Linked DNA regions of Homo sapiens: all the other regions are linked to region 1. The links are contacts of gene promoters, found by promoter capture Hi-C in blood cells and fetal thymus (Javierre and others, 2016). All regions are on one chromosome and are shown on one strand. The core of a region is centred on a gene start or on the middle of the fragment in contact, and the rest is flanking DNA. Distances in the headings are between cores, read along the strand shown.

The links. Contacts are between HindIII fragments. The CHiCAGO score rates a contact against its expected background, and 5 or more counts as called.
Region 2: a fragment that was not itself captured here is called in contact with the fragment with the promoter of MARCHF4 in region 1 in 4 of 17 cell types (activated CD4 T cells, endothelial precursors, megakaryocytes and 1 more); the score reaches 7.1 in activated CD4 T cells.
Region 3: a fragment that was not itself captured here is called in contact with the fragment with the promoter of MARCHF4 in region 1 in 2 of 17 cell types (endothelial precursors and activated CD4 T cells); the score reaches 5.9 in endothelial precursors.
Region 4: a contact is called between a fragment that was not itself captured here and the fragment with the promoter of MARCHF4 in region 1, in 4 of 17 cell types (endothelial precursors, activated CD4 T cells, total CD8 T cells and 1 more). The highest score is 8.3, in endothelial precursors.
Region 5: a contact is called between a fragment that was not itself captured here and the fragment with the promoter of MARCHF4 in region 1, in 2 of 17 cell types (endothelial precursors and activated CD4 T cells). The highest score is 7.3, in endothelial precursors.

Annotation. Positions count from the first base shown.
Region 1 is chr2:216,370,765-216,374,245 of GRCh38, reverse strand. It overlaps MARCHF4 (membrane associated ring-CH-type finger 4), which reads left to right and starts at 1,763. Exons shown (of 4, transcript NM_020814.3): 1 at 1,763-3,481. The HindIII fragment of the contact is 3,541 bases long and covers 1,440-3,481 here.
Region 2 is chr2:216,223,045-216,226,392 of GRCh38, reverse strand. No RefSeq gene overlaps it. Among named protein-coding and RNA genes, the nearest start is that of LINC01963, 7.8 kb to the right of the region's middle. RefSeq lists an enhancer at 3,072-3,281. The HindIII fragment of the contact is 7,342 bases long and covers 1-3,348 here.
Region 3 is chr2:216,159,122-216,162,475 of GRCh38, reverse strand. It overlaps XRCC5 (X-ray repair cross complementing 5), which reads right to left. Exons shown (of 21, transcript NM_021141.4): 15 at 2,315-2,408; 16 at 428-497. Among named protein-coding and RNA genes, the nearest start is that of XRCC5, 51 kb to the right of the region's middle. The HindIII fragment of the contact is 1,088 bases long and covers 1,219-2,306 here.
Region 4 is chr2:216,199,411-216,202,790 of GRCh38, reverse strand. All of the region lies in intron 19 of XRCC5 (X-ray repair cross complementing 5), which reads right to left. Among named protein-coding and RNA genes, the nearest start is that of LINC01963, 16 kb to the left of the region's middle. The HindIII fragment of the contact is 2,256 bases long and covers 244-2,499 here.
Region 5 is chr2:216,140,257-216,143,691 of GRCh38, reverse strand. It overlaps XRCC5 (X-ray repair cross complementing 5), which reads right to left. Exons shown (of 21, transcript NM_021141.4): 13 at 2,373-2,506. Among named protein-coding and RNA genes, the nearest start is that of XRCC5, 33 kb to the right of the region's middle. RefSeq lists enhancers at 854-963, 1,134-1,253. The HindIII fragment of the contact is 1,298 bases long and covers 819-2,116 here.

The sequences.
Region 1 (3,481 bases), core at 514-3,013:
ATGGTAGCTTCACTGAAATAAAAAAGCCACTTATTTATTCAGAGTCCATTTTCTTGAACACCTACTTAACTTCAGGTGCTGCATTATGTGCTGGTGATACAAATATAGATACTGATCCCAGCCTTAAAGAAGCTCTGAGTCAGACAAAGGGAGATGAATGTATGGTGAGATAATTATTATATAGACTATGATTTCTGCAATACCAGAAACAGATACAGAGTGATGTGGAACACAAAATATTTTCTTGAAGAACAAATAGAATTTTTGAAATAAAGAGGTTTTTTGTTGCTGCACAGTATTTGTGCTGATATTAATCAATAAATATTATTTTGTAGTTATTAAAAATATTAGTATCATCTTTAAATGAGCACCTTGGGCTGGGTCTCAGCATCCATGGTGAGTCCTGGGGCATGATTCAGACAAGTAGCCATGCTGGGTTAACCAAGACTGAGATGTAGGTCCTTTCTCCTTAGAGCTTGTAGGAATGAATCATTTCATAGAGATGGCAGCAAAGGGGTAGTTTTCTTATGACTCATTGGACTGAACTTCGTTCCAATGATATTTTGCTGCAGAAATTTTGCATGCTACTCTGTCTATGGCTCCAATATTTGTAAAGGCATTACCATGGCTGTTTGGATGAATCACTGGCATATCTTCTCTATGGCCCTAGAGGGGTGTGTGTGTGTGTGTGTGTGTGTGTGTGAGAGAGAGAGAGAGAGAGAGAGAGCGGGGTGGGGGAGAGAGGTTTATAAGGAAAGGCAAAAAAAGCAATCCTAAGTTTTCAGTGACCAAAGTCTACAGCTGCAAACACTGAGGTTTTATATAGACCACTTTAAGTTTCCTTCTTTTTCTTGCTCTTCACATTTAGGGGCACTTTGCTGCTCAAGAAACTCCTTGAGAAAAATAGGGTAGGGTGACATGAGTCAGTAGCAGAAATAGGAGAGGAAATTAAAATCCATTTCAAATTACCTCTTGTCAGCGGCTCAGTGAAAGGCTTGAATAGGGAGGAGGCTGGGGATGTTGGTGAAGACGAAGCTGAAATATTGCTCTGGATTCTTATGACTCACAATTGAAAGAGCACTGTGACTTATAGTAATGATGACTGTGGTGATGGTGGCCACAAGCCATTCAACAAATATGCATTGAACATTTACTAGATGCCATCTCTGACTTAGGCACACGGGATCAAATGAATTAAAAAAATTATCTCTGTCAATTGGAGCTTAAATTCTAGGCGAAGAAGCTGACAAAAAAATGGTACTAGCAACCTCCTCCCTGTTTGAAAATTTGAAGCATTTCCTTCTCATGTCTCAAGCCTCAATGAAACATTTCCTTCTCATGTCTCATGTCTCAAGCATTTCCTTAGTCATGAGGAATTTAATCTCCATCAAGTCCCAGCTTCATTGTGGAAGTCACAAAACTTTATCTCCTCGAAAGCTTGCAGACTGAGATCTACTTTAAATGTTTATGTGAACAGAGAAACGGTCTCTGGTTGACAGGTGTCTGTGTCTTGTATGTGCAATGAGAGGAGCTGTGATAGTGGACAGTGGGCAGAGAGTCTACAACCAGACCTTCCACACCGACACGTTCCTGCTGAGGTGAAATGCAAGAGTTAGTGCCTGAATCGCTCCCCTCCCTCCCCGTGGCCTTTCTCCTTCTTTCTTTTACTCTTCACTTCGCTCCCTCCTCCTTCCCTTCCTAAATCCCTCCCTCTCCTGGTTACCTCCCTTTCCCTTGGTCCCTCCCCATCCCCTTCCCTCGCACAGTTCTCTCCTCCTCTTGCTCCCTCTCCCTCCAGCTTCTTTTCCTCTCATCCCCTTTCCCTCCTCCATCCCTCCGCGGCGTCTGCGTCAGGCCCCCACGAGCGTGACGCGCGGGGTCTGGGTGGGAGCTGTCCACTCGCCCGGGGTGCTGAATGCAGCAGCGGCGGCCGCGGCGCCGGCGGCGGAGATAGCCGAGAGCCTCCCTCGCTGCAAGAACCTTGTTTCCAGTTCTCGGACGGTCAGCTCGCCGCCCCGCCACCTCCCTTCCAGCACCACCCCTTTGGGAATCGAGCCAGTGGGGGCAGCGGCGGGTGCTGAGCAACGGCGGAAGACGAGACAACACCTGGCAGCAGCCTGGAATCTGATTTGCTTCCTCTCGGCTTTTATAAGAGATATATTTATATACGGTTTTGGGGAGTCGCGAGGACCAAGCTGGAGCCAAGTGCCGGCTGCCTCCCACCTCGGCCACACTGCTTCGCTCCCCCCTCCCCACCTTCAGCTGGCACCGCAAACAAGCCTTACCTCGTTGCATCTGCGAGGAGAGGTAGCAACAGCGAGCCTAGCCAGCCAGAGGCGGTGGAGAGGAGGAAGGGGCGGGGTGGGGGGGCAGAGAGCGGGCCGAGGCCGCCCTTGGTGGGGGTAGCGGGGGCAGAGCTGCCGAGCAGACCCGGCAGCCGCCCTCCTCCGCCCCCACCCTCCAGAAGCACTCTTGCCTGAGAACCGAATTATTCCACTAGTATTATTTCATTTTTTATTACTCCCCCTCCTCACTCCCCAGCCGCCCCCACCCCCACGCCGGCCTCGCCTCTGGTTGCATGGCAGCGCTGCCCGGGCGCGGGGGCTCAGGGCTGGCCCCCAGGGAAGGGGGAGGAGGAGGAGGATCATGAAGGCCGGAGTCGCGACCGCGCCGGACGGCGGGCAGCAGCCAGAGGACGAGCCGGAGCAGCCCCCGCCCCGGAGACACCCGGACGCCGAGCAGCAGTCGCCTCCGCCGCCGCAGCAGCAGCTGCGGGCGCGGGCCGACCCGGAGCCGGAGGAGGAGGGCGACCGCGACCCAGAGGAGGAAGAGGAGGAGAAGGCGAGGCCACTCGCCCGCCCGGACCTGCCCTTCTCTCGGCTCTTGCCCCTCGACCGAAGGGACCTTTGATGGAACCGAGGGGAGGGCGCCACGGATTTGCCGACTGCAGCAGGGGTGGGCTGGGGGCTGAGATAATGTAACCACTCCTTTCTCCTGTTCTCTCCCACACGCCCCTCTCCTCTACCCCTATTCTCTGCTCCACTGCCCTCTCACCCCGGTACACACACCCTTCCTCTAGCCAGGATCTTCATGCTCAGGAAGGAGGCGCCTCTGCAAGGGTTAAACGATCTTTTCTTTTTCTCCCATCCTTTTTCCTTCCCAAACCTCTATTTTACCTCCCTTCTCCTAATTGGCTTTCCCCTCTTCGGTGTAACCCTTTGGCTGCGGAGGCAAAGCACAAGCCCCTAGCCCAGTTTCACCTGCAACACCCCTCCCCCACCCAACTGCTCTCTTAAAAGCAACTCTGGTGCTTCTGGGGGTTAATTGCCCCAGTTTTCTGCCCAGGAGAATTAAAACTTCTCCCAATCTTCTCTCCTCCCCTACCTTGACTCCCCCAACCCCTACCACCTGAGAAAAACGATCTTTTCTCTCTCACACATGCAGTCCTCAATTCTTCATTGAGCTAGTTTTCTCTAAGCCC
Region 2 (3,348 bases), core at 790-3,289, 150 kb after region 1:
CGCCCGGCCAGCCGCCCCGTCCGGGAGGGAGGTGGGGGGGGTCAGCCCCCCGCCCGGCCAGCCGCCCCGTCCGGGAGGGAAGTGGGGGGATCAGCCCCCTGCCTGGCCAGCCGCCCCGTCCGGGAGGTGAGGGGCGCCTCTGCCCGGCCGCCCCTACTGGGAAGTGAGGACCCCTCTGCCCGGCCAGCCGCCCCGTCCGGGAGGGAGGTGGGGGGGGTCAGCCCCCCGCCCGGCCAGCCGCCCCGTCCGGGAGGGAGGTGGGGGGATCAGCCCCCTTCCTGGCCAGCCGCCCCGTCCGGGAGGTGAGGGGCGCCTCTGCCCGGCCGCCCCTACTGGGAAGTGAGGACCCCTCTGCCCGGCCAGCCGCCCCGTCCGGGAGGGAGGTGGGGGGGTCAGCCCCCCTTCCGGCCGGCCGCCCCGTCCGGGAGGTGAGGGGCGCCTCTGCCCGGCCGCCCCTACTGGGAAGTGAGGACCCCTCTGCCCGGCCAGCCGCCCCGTCCGGGAGGGAGGTGGGGGGGACAGCCCCCCGCCCGGCCAGCCGCCCTATCCAGGAGGTGAGGGGCGCCTCTGCCCGGCCGCCCCTACTGGGAAGTGAGGAGCCCCTCTGCCCGGCCACGACCCCGTCTGGGAGGTGTGCCCAGCGGCTCATTGGTGATGGGCCATGATGACAATGGCGGTTTTGTGGAATAGAAAGGCGGGAAGGGTGGGGAAAGAATTGAGAAATCGGATGGTTACCGGGTCTGTGTGGATGGAAGTAGACATGGGAGACTTTTCATTTTGTTCTGTACTAGGAAAAATTCTTCTGCCTTGGGATCCTGTTGATCTGTGACCTTATCCCCAACCCTGTGCTCTCTGAAACATGTGCTGTGTCCACTCAGGGTTAAATGGATTAAGGGCGGTGCAAGATGTGCTTTGTTAAACAGATGCTTGAAGGCAGCATGCTCGTTAAGAGTCATCACCACTCCCTAATCTTTAAGTACCCAGGGACACAAACACTGTGGAAGGCCGCAGGGTCCTCTGCCTAGGAAAACCGGAGACCTTTGTTCACTTGTTTATCTGCTGACCTTCCCTCCACTATTGTCCTATGACCCTGCCAAATCCCCCTCTGCGAGAAACACCCAAGAATGATCAATAAAAATAAAAAATAAAAAAAAAAAAAAAAAAAAAAAAAAAAGAACACATGGCATGGGCTGGGCGCGGTGGCTCACACTTGTAATCCTAGCACTTTGGGAGGCCTAGGTGGGTGGATCACGAGGTCAGGAGTTCGAGACCATCCTGGCCAAGGCGGTGAAACCCCATCTCTACTAAAAATACAAAAAAACTAGCCGGGTGTGGTGGCGAGCACCTGTAATCCCAGCTACTCAGGAGGCTAGGGCAGAGAATTGCTTGAACCCAGGAGGCGGATGTTGCTGTGAGCCGAGACTGTGCCATTACACTCCAGCCTGGGGGACAGAGCGAGACTCCATCTCAAAAAAAAAAAAAAGAATACATGCCATGTGTTACCCTAACTTCATGAGTCAGGTGGGTGCCAGGGGTACCAGAGAGCCAGGCTATCTCTAGCACCATCTAAGAAACTGTGATATCAAGACCTCTTCTTCCAGCCTGAGCCACAATCTTTTTCCACACCTTCCCTCCTTTCTTAAGGACCAATGAAAGGTATAAAGTCAAGGTATTTCCAGAGATTTTCCCAAACTGCACATATCCTGGGCTCTGGCATCAGGAGTCTCTTCTTTTCCCAGAAGCCTGGACAACCTCCCACTGACAGAGCTGATAATAAATGAGTTCATTATCAGGCTGCTGGGGCCCATGACAGCCCATCTGCTGGCATGATTAATTAAAACTTTGACTGGCGATGGGGGTGCCATCTCAGGGTCAGAAAGCAATTAATTGGAGCATCATCCAGGCCATTATTTCTGTTGGATTCTAGAATGACCAATGCCAGAGAGCAAGGTCTATGTGAGTCAGTCTCAGTCTCATTGCCTTACTCTCCTTTTTTTGTTTGCTTGTTTGTTTTTAAGACAGAGCCTCACTCTGTTGCCCAGGCTGGAGTGCAGTGGAACGGTCACAGCTCACTGCAGTCTCGACCTCCTGGGCTCAATCAATCCTCCCATCTCAGCCTCCTGGGTAGTTGGGACTACAACTGTGCACCACCATTGTGCAGCTCATTTTCGTATTATTATTATTATCGTAGAGACAGGATTTCGCCATGTTGTCCAGGCTGGTCTCCAACTCCTGGGCTCAAGCAATCCGCCTACCTTGGCTTCCCAAAGTGCTGGGATTATAGGGATGCCATTTTTCACAGAAATAGAAAAACCATTTCTAAAATTAATATGGAACCGAAGAAGAGCCCAAATCACCACCATACCTGGCCTCCTTACTCTCCTTTATATTTCTTGCAGTCTCTTCCCCAGGCAAGCCCACCCTAATGAAGCAGAGACAGATTGGTGGGAATCGGATCCTCAAATCCTCTAAGTGGAGCAGGAGGATCATCCTCTTAGGGCTTTCTACTCCTCCCAGGAGTGGGGAGTATTGGGATTCAAAAGAGGGTTTCACTCTGTTTTCTTGACTCTTGTGCTCAAGCACAGCAAACTCATCATTTTACATCCTTGTATTTGTCAGGTTTCCCCAGAAATAGGATATATATATATATAAAATAGGAACTGGCTCACATGATTATGGAGGCTGAGAAGACCCATGATATGCTATCTGCAAGTTGGAGAACCAGGAAAGCCAGTGGTGTAATTATCTGAAAGCCTGAGAACCAGGAGTGCCAATGTCTGAGGGCAGAAGATGGATGCCTCAGCTCCAAGAGGGAGAACAAATTCACCCTTCCTCTGCCTTTTGTTCTGTCCAGGCTCTCAACAGATTGGATGATGGCCACCCACATGGGTGAGGGTAAATCTTCATTACTACTGATACAAATGCTCATCTCTTCCAGACACACCCTCACAGTTACTCTGAGAAGGTTTTATAGCTATCCGGACATCACTTAACCCAGTCAATAATTATGGATATATAATTAACCATCACAGTCTTAATATAGCGATGTTCCCATCACTCTCTGTGTTCTGCTAATGAGCTGCAAAGCTGCTAGGTAAGGCCTCAGGCCCAAGCAGAGATCTTCAGCCCATAGAACCAGAAGCCCTGCATTTGGGGAAAAGCTAGGGGATTTCCTGGCCATAAATAAGGTTGTGGTTTTGGTCCCCAACTGGCTATGATCATGGTTTGCTTATCTCTGTAGTGAGAACACAGAGGGGAAAGAAGGACTCAGACTCTGGGAATAAACCCTGCCACCTCTGGAAACACACAGGAGAGGCACCACACTTCTTTTTTGTGCAGCCCACAGCT
Region 3 (3,354 bases), core at 513-3,012, 210 kb after region 1:
GTGCTGAAATCATGCCATTGCACTCCAGCCTGGGCAACAAGAGAGAAACTCCATCTCAAAAAAAAAAAGAAAAAAAAGGAAGAAAATAAAATAGGAAGATGTGACATAAAAGTGTTTTATTTATAGCTCACGACAAAATCCTAAAAAACTTCAATGAAGTGGAGCTATAAGCGCCAAGGTGTTGGCCCAAAGTTTTTCTGTAGGGAGACCTACAAATTAGTTCCTTTTGAGAAAATCTGTGCTGAGTTCACTTTCATGTGCTCATAATGTTGCCTCAGTGAGCTCCCTAACAAGGGAAAACCACAAAGATCCGCCAGTAAAGAAAAATGCTAAAGTGTTACAACAAAAGGCTACAGTTCTTAATCTAGACTTTAAATTAGTTAGCTTAACTAAACAGCTTCTCCTAAATGCAAAGTCAACCACTCACCTTCCTCAAAGCTGGCCTTCTTCTGTTTCACTAGAACACGGAAGTTTTCAGCAGGATTCACACTTCCAACCTAAAATATACCAACAGATGATAAACCTACAGGTTATTTCTCTTTTTAGCAGCACCCCAGGCAATACAAGATGGCTTAATGTAATAAGTGTGCTCTTATAAAATAAAACCAAAGACAAAGAGAAGGGCTTTTCTATTCATTTTCATTTCTAGGGCTCTGTGAAAGGCCGGCAGATTTCAGTGGTCCAAGAGCTGCCCTCTGTGCTTTCACTCACCTTGCTTTATGAAAGCTGATTTCTTTCCAGAAGGGTCAAAAAAGTATTACAACTCAAGCCACCAGCCAGCCCAGCTGGAAGGCTTTGTGTAGCACAGACTGCCTGTATATCCTGTCACCCAACCAATTAGAAAGCCGAGGATTCTGCAGTGTGGGGTCGGTTTCGAATAGATTTGCCCCACTAAGATAACATGAGAAATACAGCTTAATGCCTGATTCACCGAAGTGCCCATTAGTGGGACTGCTGCTGACCCTTTGGCACTGAAGTTTTGGTAGAATATACAAAGCATACCCAGGTTGAACATGTCCTCAGAAAGTAAAAGCAGATTATGTACAAAGATGTACTGCAGTGCTGGGTGAGGAAGTTTGAAAGACGAAACTGCCATATTATATGGAACTTTCTGATTATACCTATGTTTTTAATCTGCTGGCCCCAACCCTCACAGGGCCTAAGAACCACTCAGCTCATAAGAAAGAAAACAATGGGGTTCCAAAATATACTAAAGCTTCCAGTTTGCTTGGATATAGGAAGCAGAAAAGCTCTCAGAACAAGATCATGACTTTTTCCTTTACTATTATATATAAAACATCTAAATGAAATCTAAATCATTTTTCACACATTCAATTTTTCTGAGTTTCTGTTTGAGGTGAGAATAAAGGCATGCCCTTTATTCCCTGACTATCCTTCCTAGTACATTGTGTTAAAAAGTTATCGGCCAATTTTTAAGATTTGTTGATTCACACTAATGCTGCTTAGAACAAGGCACTATTTGGCTGGGTGCAGTGACTCATGACTATAATCCCAGTGCTTCGGGAGGCTGAAGCGGGAGGATTGCTTGAGCCCAGGAGTAACATACTGAGACCCCACCTCTATGAAAAATAGCCGGGTATGGTGGCATGTACCCTTAGTCCTAGCTACACAGGAGGCTGAGGCAGGAGGACCACTTGAGCTCAGGATTTCAAGGCTGCAGTGAGCTAAAATCACACTACTGTACTCCGGCGTGGGTGACAGTGACAACCTATCTCTAAAATTAAATAAAATATTCTTCCTCCTGGCTGACCAAGATATAAAAATTAATTAATTAATTAATTAATTAATTAAGGTAGTATTTTCAAGTTCCAAAAAATTTCTCATTCAATAAAAATCTCATGTATCAAAGGATACATTCTTGGGGAAATCCTAAACTTGTGAATCCTGTTCTAAAGTTGCATGTTAGAAAATAGGAAAGTTATACTAACTTAAATTGTGTGTACTTGAAGATTAAGGCTCGTATCACTAACCCCCACTTATCCTATCATTTTGACTAGTTGAAAAGCTGCAAAATAATGCCAACAGCAAAATCTCAACACTGAGATGTTCCACGTTCTATAAAGAGCTCTATATACCTTATATCATATAGATAATTCTGTAGGCAATTCATGATAATAATTACTTAAAGAAGTATGGAATGGGTCTTTTTGGCTTCTATAGAGCAAGGACCAGAGAAAGTGATCATGATCTTAACTTGAAAGTGGTAAGAACGGACTAACAAAAATTGATGCACTCTCCCTCAAGCCCCAACCTTCCTGCAAAGGGGGAAGCGCACTTGAAAAGCTTAGCTTACAGAGGTGACACTGCCTTCAGCCAGACTGGAGACGCTGAAGTGGGCTCCCCCTTGCTCAGTCTTTAATTTTTTAGCTGTAGGTCCATCTTCATGGCTAGAAAAGAAAAAAAAAATTTCTCTTAGAACAAACAATACAAAACCAGATTGCTATTGTGAAACTTATTTTCCAAGCACCAAAAAAAAAAAAGAAAAAAGAAGAAGAAGAAAAGAAAAATAATGAAGAAGAAAAAGAAAAGAAAAACAATAGCTACATGTAGTCCTTCTACAAACAAGCTGCCTCCCTTTCCTAGCCACCGGGCTCCTAAGGGCCTAACTTGAGGCAGCCCTGGCTTTGTTTCACAGCAGTATGAGAATCAGAATTAAGCAATCACATCATAAGGTCCTTGGAAAAGATGAAACTGCAAGCACAGATAATGGAAATTTAACATTTAAGTAAGAAATCCATTTACTCTTCAGATATTATTTTCTAGTTCCTGTCTCAGAATTGACAGCTATTAGCTTTCCATGTACACAGAAGACCTTTGTGTCTAACAACCCGTTTTCTCTATCATGTATGTTAGAGCTTTATAAGCCTCTGTTTACAACTGTCAAAACTTACTAGACAATCCTTAATTAACTATGCAAGAGCTTTCCCTCTTAAAGAAGTCGTAAACTATAAAAAAAAAACTTCCCCGAAAACTTTTTAATTTGTTCTTTTATAAACCTAATTCTGTTTTGTGCAATATGCTAACAGTCCAGTAGCATCTGTGTGCTAAGGAAAAGTATATCAAACATCTTGCCTCAAGCAACATGCTGGCTTTAACAGCCTGTCTTAAAGTCAAGAGGAGGTCAAGTTAATTGCAAAAGAGAAGAAAATCAAATCCAAAGACTCTGCCTGTAATCTCCCTTAAGCTGCTGAACATAAAGAAATTAAGATTTTTTTCTCCCAGAGAGAAATGCAATCTAGGGCAAAAGCAGCCATCAGAAATGGCTAAATGATAAGAGAATTAGTAACCAAGATCTAGAAATTTTAAAAATTCATTTATTTTAACATAAAAATT
Region 4 (3,380 bases), core at 122-2,621, 170 kb after region 1:
TGTTGACTCAACCACTCTCTTGGACTTTTTTTCCCTCAGTTAAGACCACCTCACTATTCATTAACTTCTTTTATGACTGAGCGAATAAGGAATTTATCTTCTTTTAAGGACATTTATGGATCTTTCCATAGCTCTTTGTTGACCCTAAACTGGGCCATGTGCAAGACTGAGAATCAATGGTATAAGAGAGAGGAAATCCCAGCAATGGAGGCAGACAGTCTGTAACAGAATTGTGATGAAGCTTCTGTTTCATTCATTCTGTTTATTCTGGGTGATTATGAATAAAGATATCTGACAGCCAAATACAGATAAATGAATAAAAAATCTATACATTTACTAGCATATGATTTATCTGTAAAGGTTAAATAAACTACTCTATCCTAGATTCTCAAATGGGTTTTTATTTGGGGTTTTCCGGGTTATTATCATACTTTTTATGTTGTACCTCTCCTCTCCTACTCATTGTCATTAACCCCTGCATGATTTTCGTGATATCAGGACTATATGGCTACAGGATAAGACTTATCCAGTTGGGGCAAGAGAATAAACAGTAGAGCTGCATCCTGCCATAAATCTCTGTAGGGCCACAAATGACTGGTATCTTCCAAACATCTGAAAAACTCCATAGGCTTAATGGTTCTGTAGTCCACTACATCTTGTATGACCCCTTAGATAAGGACTTATTGTTGGCACAGTATGACCATGGTATATATACTTAAGCACAAATGGCACATCTCTGAGACTAGGCCAAATTCCTAGGAAGAAATGAGCAGCAACAAAAATCCTACATTTTCATTAAGTGCTAAGTATCGTCTGCAACTGATTTTCCTGACAGATCTGCTTCACATTTCTGTGTAAGCAAATTATGTTTAAAAGCTGGGCTGCCATCCATTATCCTTCCCAATGCCCCAGGCAAGGCTGATCTCTTCCACATATCACTCCTCATCATTAATGTTTGTAACTGCAAGTAATTCTAGCCCATGCAGTGACAGGGAAGCAAGATAGAGCAGAGAACTCAATGACTGGCCTGCTTTCTCAATAAAAGCAAGAGATTCTCCGAATCTCTTCTGCAGAAAGGGGTAGGAGTCAATTCTCATCTTTTCTCATGTGTTCTTTCCCTCTGCAATATGCTGAGAAAGTAGAGAACAGATAGAAAGGGCATGTGTGTGAGTGACATATTCCTTCTTCCTCAAACCACCATCACTTACCTGGGGTTACCATAAAAGTGCCTCCTTACCTGGAGAACTTTATGAAATGGATAACCTACTACTTTTCAAGTACACTGAAATATAATCCTGGCCACAAGCAGAGTAATGAAATCAATAACCTCTATATAGAAACTGCCAGTCCTATACCACCATAAGACTAAAAGACTATCATCTTGTGCTCAGACCCTTACTGACCCCCAAAGTAAAAACACATGACTTCCACTGGGTTGTTTCCAACACCATCAGGTGATTCCAAAGGATTACTGACAATCTAGATGTGTAAAAAAGCATCAAAAAGAATAAAAGTCAGTTTGCATGTACTTTGCCTAAAATGACATATATTTGGGTTTCATTAATGCCACTTGTAGCTTAATGGATGCTATAAACACTAACATGGTGCAAGAGGGAAATCCTGCAGCCTAGTGTGGAGAACACAACTATAACCCTGTCAGTTTCTCAGGAACCTTACGCAAGCCACCTGACCTTTTCATAACTAATTTCGCTCAAAAACAAAATGTGAATACTACTACTTACCATACCTATCTTAGGGGTTGTTGAGTCTCAGATAAACTAAAGTATGAAAAAATTCATTATGGTATTGTAAGTTTCATGTTCTAATTCCTAGGAATACACTTAACATATGTCCACCAAGTGGTATGTACAAGAATATCCACAGCATCTTTATTCATAACTGCCAAAGGACAAACAAGCAAATGTCCATCATTAGGAGAATGGATGAATAAATTGTGGTAAAATCATAAAAGGGATTACTACATAGCTATAATCACATAATTGATGAAAAAAAGGCATGATTCCAATTATATGAAGGTCAAAAACAGGCCAGATGACTCTCAAGTGACAGAAGTCAGAATAGTGGTTACCTCAAGGGATGGGGGCTTCTGACTAGGAAGGTACCAGGGAGGCTTATGTGGTGATGGAAATGTTCTATTATTTTGATCTGGGTGGTGAGCACCCAGGTACATGAATGTGTAAGAATTCATCAAGTTGCACAGTTAAGATCTGTGCATTTACTGTACACATGTTCTACCTCAATAAAAAATTTAATATCATATCTTAAATGTATCAAGCCTTAAATAAATATTGGGTAACACTGTGATATTTTCATTATTACTTTTCTTGTACTAGCAAACTACACCAGAGAATTAAGGCAGAAAATGAAAGCAGAAAAAAGCAAAGAAAAATGTCACAGGTTCCAACAGGGGCCAGCAGTTTGACAAAACTGCTCTCAAGAAATGATTCTTAACCTTTGTCTTCAATCCTTCACTAAGCTTTGGAGAATTCCTGTGCACTCTCACACACAGAACCAGATGTACTCTTGAAAAAGGGAGCATGAGCATCCTTTCTCTAGGTAGATGTGGTTGGCGGCATTATAAGGTGAAGGCGTGAAGAGCTGGTGCCATGGTGTGGTGATAAGGCGACTACAGCGGGCATCTGGGGGTCTGGATTCCAGTCAATTCTGCTGGCCACTAGCTTGCTGTGAGGCACAGAAAACTTTACCTCTCTAGACAGGGGTGTTGGTAAAATGGCCAACACCAATTGGTAAAATGGCCAATTGCTATCTATGAATGTCTGTGATACTAAGGTGGAAAATCCATAAATGTCAACAACAATAAAGAAGGATAAATTAGGCAGTTACAAGAAAAATAAGTGCTAAAATAATGATTTTTTTTTCACAGAGCTTACATCAAATGATTATTTAGATATAGCTCAGCCTCTTGGAATCTGGTAAAAAAAAAAAAAAAAAAAAAAAAGATCCCAATGCCATGGGGATAAATCCTCTTTCTTCACTGCTTTCTCAATACTAAAGGAGAATGAAGGACTAGGGCAGTGCTAGAACTAGATTCCTGGCCGGTGACTTACTGTGAGCTCTCAGACACATCACTTTACCTCTTCCACCCACTACAGAGCCAGGAGAACTGACAGATGAAGAGCACACAAAGGCTATACAAAGATTCTACCAAACATCAAATGCTAATGGCATATCTAATCATATAAACTAGAAACAGAAAAAGTGGAAGAACTGACAGGTTATAATGATAATAAAAATGAACATTAAAGAATGATTTATGCCTAGGTTTCAAAATGAAATGAGAGGTACCAGGAAACTTAAAAGAAAGTGACTGTCTAAACTCACGCCATGCAAAAACTTTC
Region 5 (3,435 bases), core at 218-2,717, 230 kb after region 1:
GTATCTTTCGCACGTGGTTCATTGTTAGTACTCAATAAATAAGTTTTTTTTAAGTTTATGTATCCTAGTGAAGATACTTCTTTATATAGATAAGCCACATTAAAAACTCTCCCCCACAAAACAAACTAATAAAAATCAAAGCCCGTGCTTGCAGCAGCTTTGGAATATAAAAATGCCTGCATTTATGGCTTGTATCTGTTTGTTATTCCAATAAGCATTTATTAAAGATAAATACAACCTACTGTAGATAAGTGTGCAAAATAGTATTAATAGAAGTTTCTCTTTTTCTCCACAGTGAACCATTTTGGTAAGCTTTGAACTGGTCTGCTCCTACCTTTCCTACAAATGGCACAAGGCTTTAGGTCTTCAAGTACATTTGCCAAAAAAACACCAAAGGATTTTTATATCTGTAATTTATACTTCATTACACTTAGCATGCTAGAGTACAGATGGTCCCTGGTTTATGATGGTTCAATTTACAATTTTTCCACTTTACAACAGTGTGAAAGCGATACTCATTCAGTAGAACTCAGTAGGACACTTACAATGCTGGGCAGTGATATCAAGCTGCAGCTCCCAAGGGTAGACAACCTTTACAGTGCATGATATTGTCAGATGATTCTGCCCAACTGTAGGCTAATGTGAAGTGTTTTGAGCACATTTAAAGTAGGTGAGGCTAAGCTATGATGATTGGTAGGTTAGGTGTAGTAAATGCATTTTCAACTTATATTCTCAACTTAGATGGGTTTATAGGCGTGTATCCCCATCATAAACTGAGGGGCATGAGTATTCAGAGTCAAGTCTTCACATGTTAAGCTTCACATCTCTAATTTTAGAACAAAAGATTTTTTTCACTACTTAAAAGAATTACAAGCATCAAAAAAACAGGCAGTTTCTTTCAAGTAGAGGATCCCTCAAATCACAAGCCCCAATATGGACTTAAGTTAGTTACAGATGTTTCATGAAGTGAGTCATAAGGGAGAATCTGTGGTCTCTGCAGCACATGCCCTGTTACCCCCAACCTGCAGAAAAGGGCCCTCTACTCCTCTGTGAGCAACAGCTTGCCTTAAAAAGCTGCTTATATAATTTTTTTTTCAGTTTTGTGGGGGTCAGAGAAGCCTATGTCCTGCTGTCATCAACTGAATCCAGGACTGGAATATTCCTTTCTCCTTCAACCTTGGTCTAGCCCTCCCCTTCCTCAGCATAAGTCAGCTCTCTTGTCAACTTCCCCAATTTACCTTAATCCAATCTCTGCCTTCCAATTCCTTTGGACTCAGATTCAGAAGATTTTTTATATTTTCTGTATTTTAATTATTCTTTAATAATTTCACAATATAACCTTTTTATCTGACCCCTATGCTCCCTTTAATTATGAAATTTTTGAGAAATGTGACATTAGAACACTTCTTCTCTAACAATGTTATATTATTATAGAGTTCATATAAGCTCTCCTACTATTTTGATATAGAAAACAAAGAAAAGTGTTATTTACATACAATACAGGAGAAAAGCCTGAAAAAATATAAAAGAGGCATCTGGCTGGGGGCAATGGTATACACCTGGAGTCCCATCTACTCAGAATGCTTGAGCCTAGGAGTTAAAGACCAGCCTAGGAACCTTTTTTTTTCTTTTTTTTTAAAGACTCGGTCTCATTCTGCCGCCCAGGCTGGAGTACAGGGTCGTGATCTCGGCTAACTCCACTCTCCATCTCCCAGGTTCAAGCAATTCTCCCACTTCAGCCTCCTGAGAAGCTCGGATTACAGGCACGTGCTACCATGCCCGGCTAATTTTTTTATTTTTTGGTAGAGACAGGGTTTCACCATGTTAGCCAGGCTGGTCTTGAACTCCTGACCTCAAGTGATGCACCTGCCTCAGCCTCCCAAAGTGCTGGGATTACAGGCATGAACCACCGCACGTGGCCAAGACTTGTCTTCACAAAAATTTTTACAAATGAGCCAGGCATGGTGGCATGTGCCTGCAATCCCAGCTGTTCAGGAGACTGAGGCGGGAAGAGTGCTTGAGCACAGGAGTTTGAGGCTATAGTGAGCTATGATCACAACACTGCACTCCAGCATAGGCAACTGGCCTTCCTGTATTTTTTTTGTTAAAGTAAGCTTCTTCCAGGAAAAAAAAAAAAAAAAAAAAAAAAAAGAAAAGAAAGAAAGCATTCCAACTTTATTTTTCTTTTTAAGAGCTCAGAATATTTTTACCTTCTGAAGTAGGAGAGGAAGATGTTATTCTTCCATTAAATAGAGCAAATGGGGCCTTCAGAGAAAAAAGACATTTATTTAGGACTGGCCAATTACCGCAACTTTGCACTTAGCTCTCTTTCATTTAAAAGAAATATGACTTGTTCATCCTTCTTCTCTTACCTGAAATAATCTCTGAAATCGAGGATTTGGGATTTTGGTGGTTGGAAACAAGTCTTCAAGGGTGTCTGTCTTCTCATCTTTCTTTGCCAAGCTCATGGAGTCAATCAAAGCATCAACAGCATTCAACTGTGCCTCTTAAACAGAGAAGCCGAAAGAAAAATGATTATTTCCATTATTCTCCACTAAAACAAATGCTTTCTACGTAGAGATATCCACGGCAATATTGGCAGGTTATACAGTCCTGGCCCTGCCAAAGTATTCTCTAGCTATGCACGTATTTAACCCAAGTCTTGGTTTTCTTATCCATGAAAAGATCGATTTAGAGTGACTGACTGATTAGGTTCCAGTTCTACCATTCAGTGAGCCTCTGACAATGGAGTATCAGATCAAAAGCAAGAAAGTTTGTTTCAGAGGAATACAGCCATATAAAAACCAATCCCTATAAGGAGACTGGAACAAAATATTTAGTATCCATTGAGCTAATATTTTAAAAACTAGTAATTAGCTAAAGAAGAAAAACATTAAAAAGAAAAAACCTCTCTGGTAATGAAGCATAAGCATTTTAATGACTTTAATATAACTTTTATCAGAGTACAGCACCTTAACAGGAAGACACCATTGGATCAGGGTGAGCTGATTCCTTCACAATCTACTGAGGCTGAATAAGCTCTCTCCTCTCTTAATGCCTCCATGACACTACTCACACCTGCGTACATGTCTTGCCCTACTCCATTCAAACTCTCAAGTTCCATGAGAGCAGAAATACGACATCCTCTTTCCTTAGGTCTCTCCTAATACTAATAAAAAACAAGTGCTCCTCAATAAAAATCTACTCAGTCAATAAAAATGGTACAGCCCAAAGCAATATGGACGAAAGGCAATTCTCCCAAAAATACTTCTGCCTAAACTACTGTGTGTAACTTTCATTTTACTGATTCATACAGCAGTTCAGCTGTTGAACCTGAGGCACTATTTCTGGAACATTCACAGTCACCAGGCAAAAGGTGGAAAAGAGTAAGTAGTTCCTAAAAAGTACATTATACTTCTATTCTGCACCTTTTCA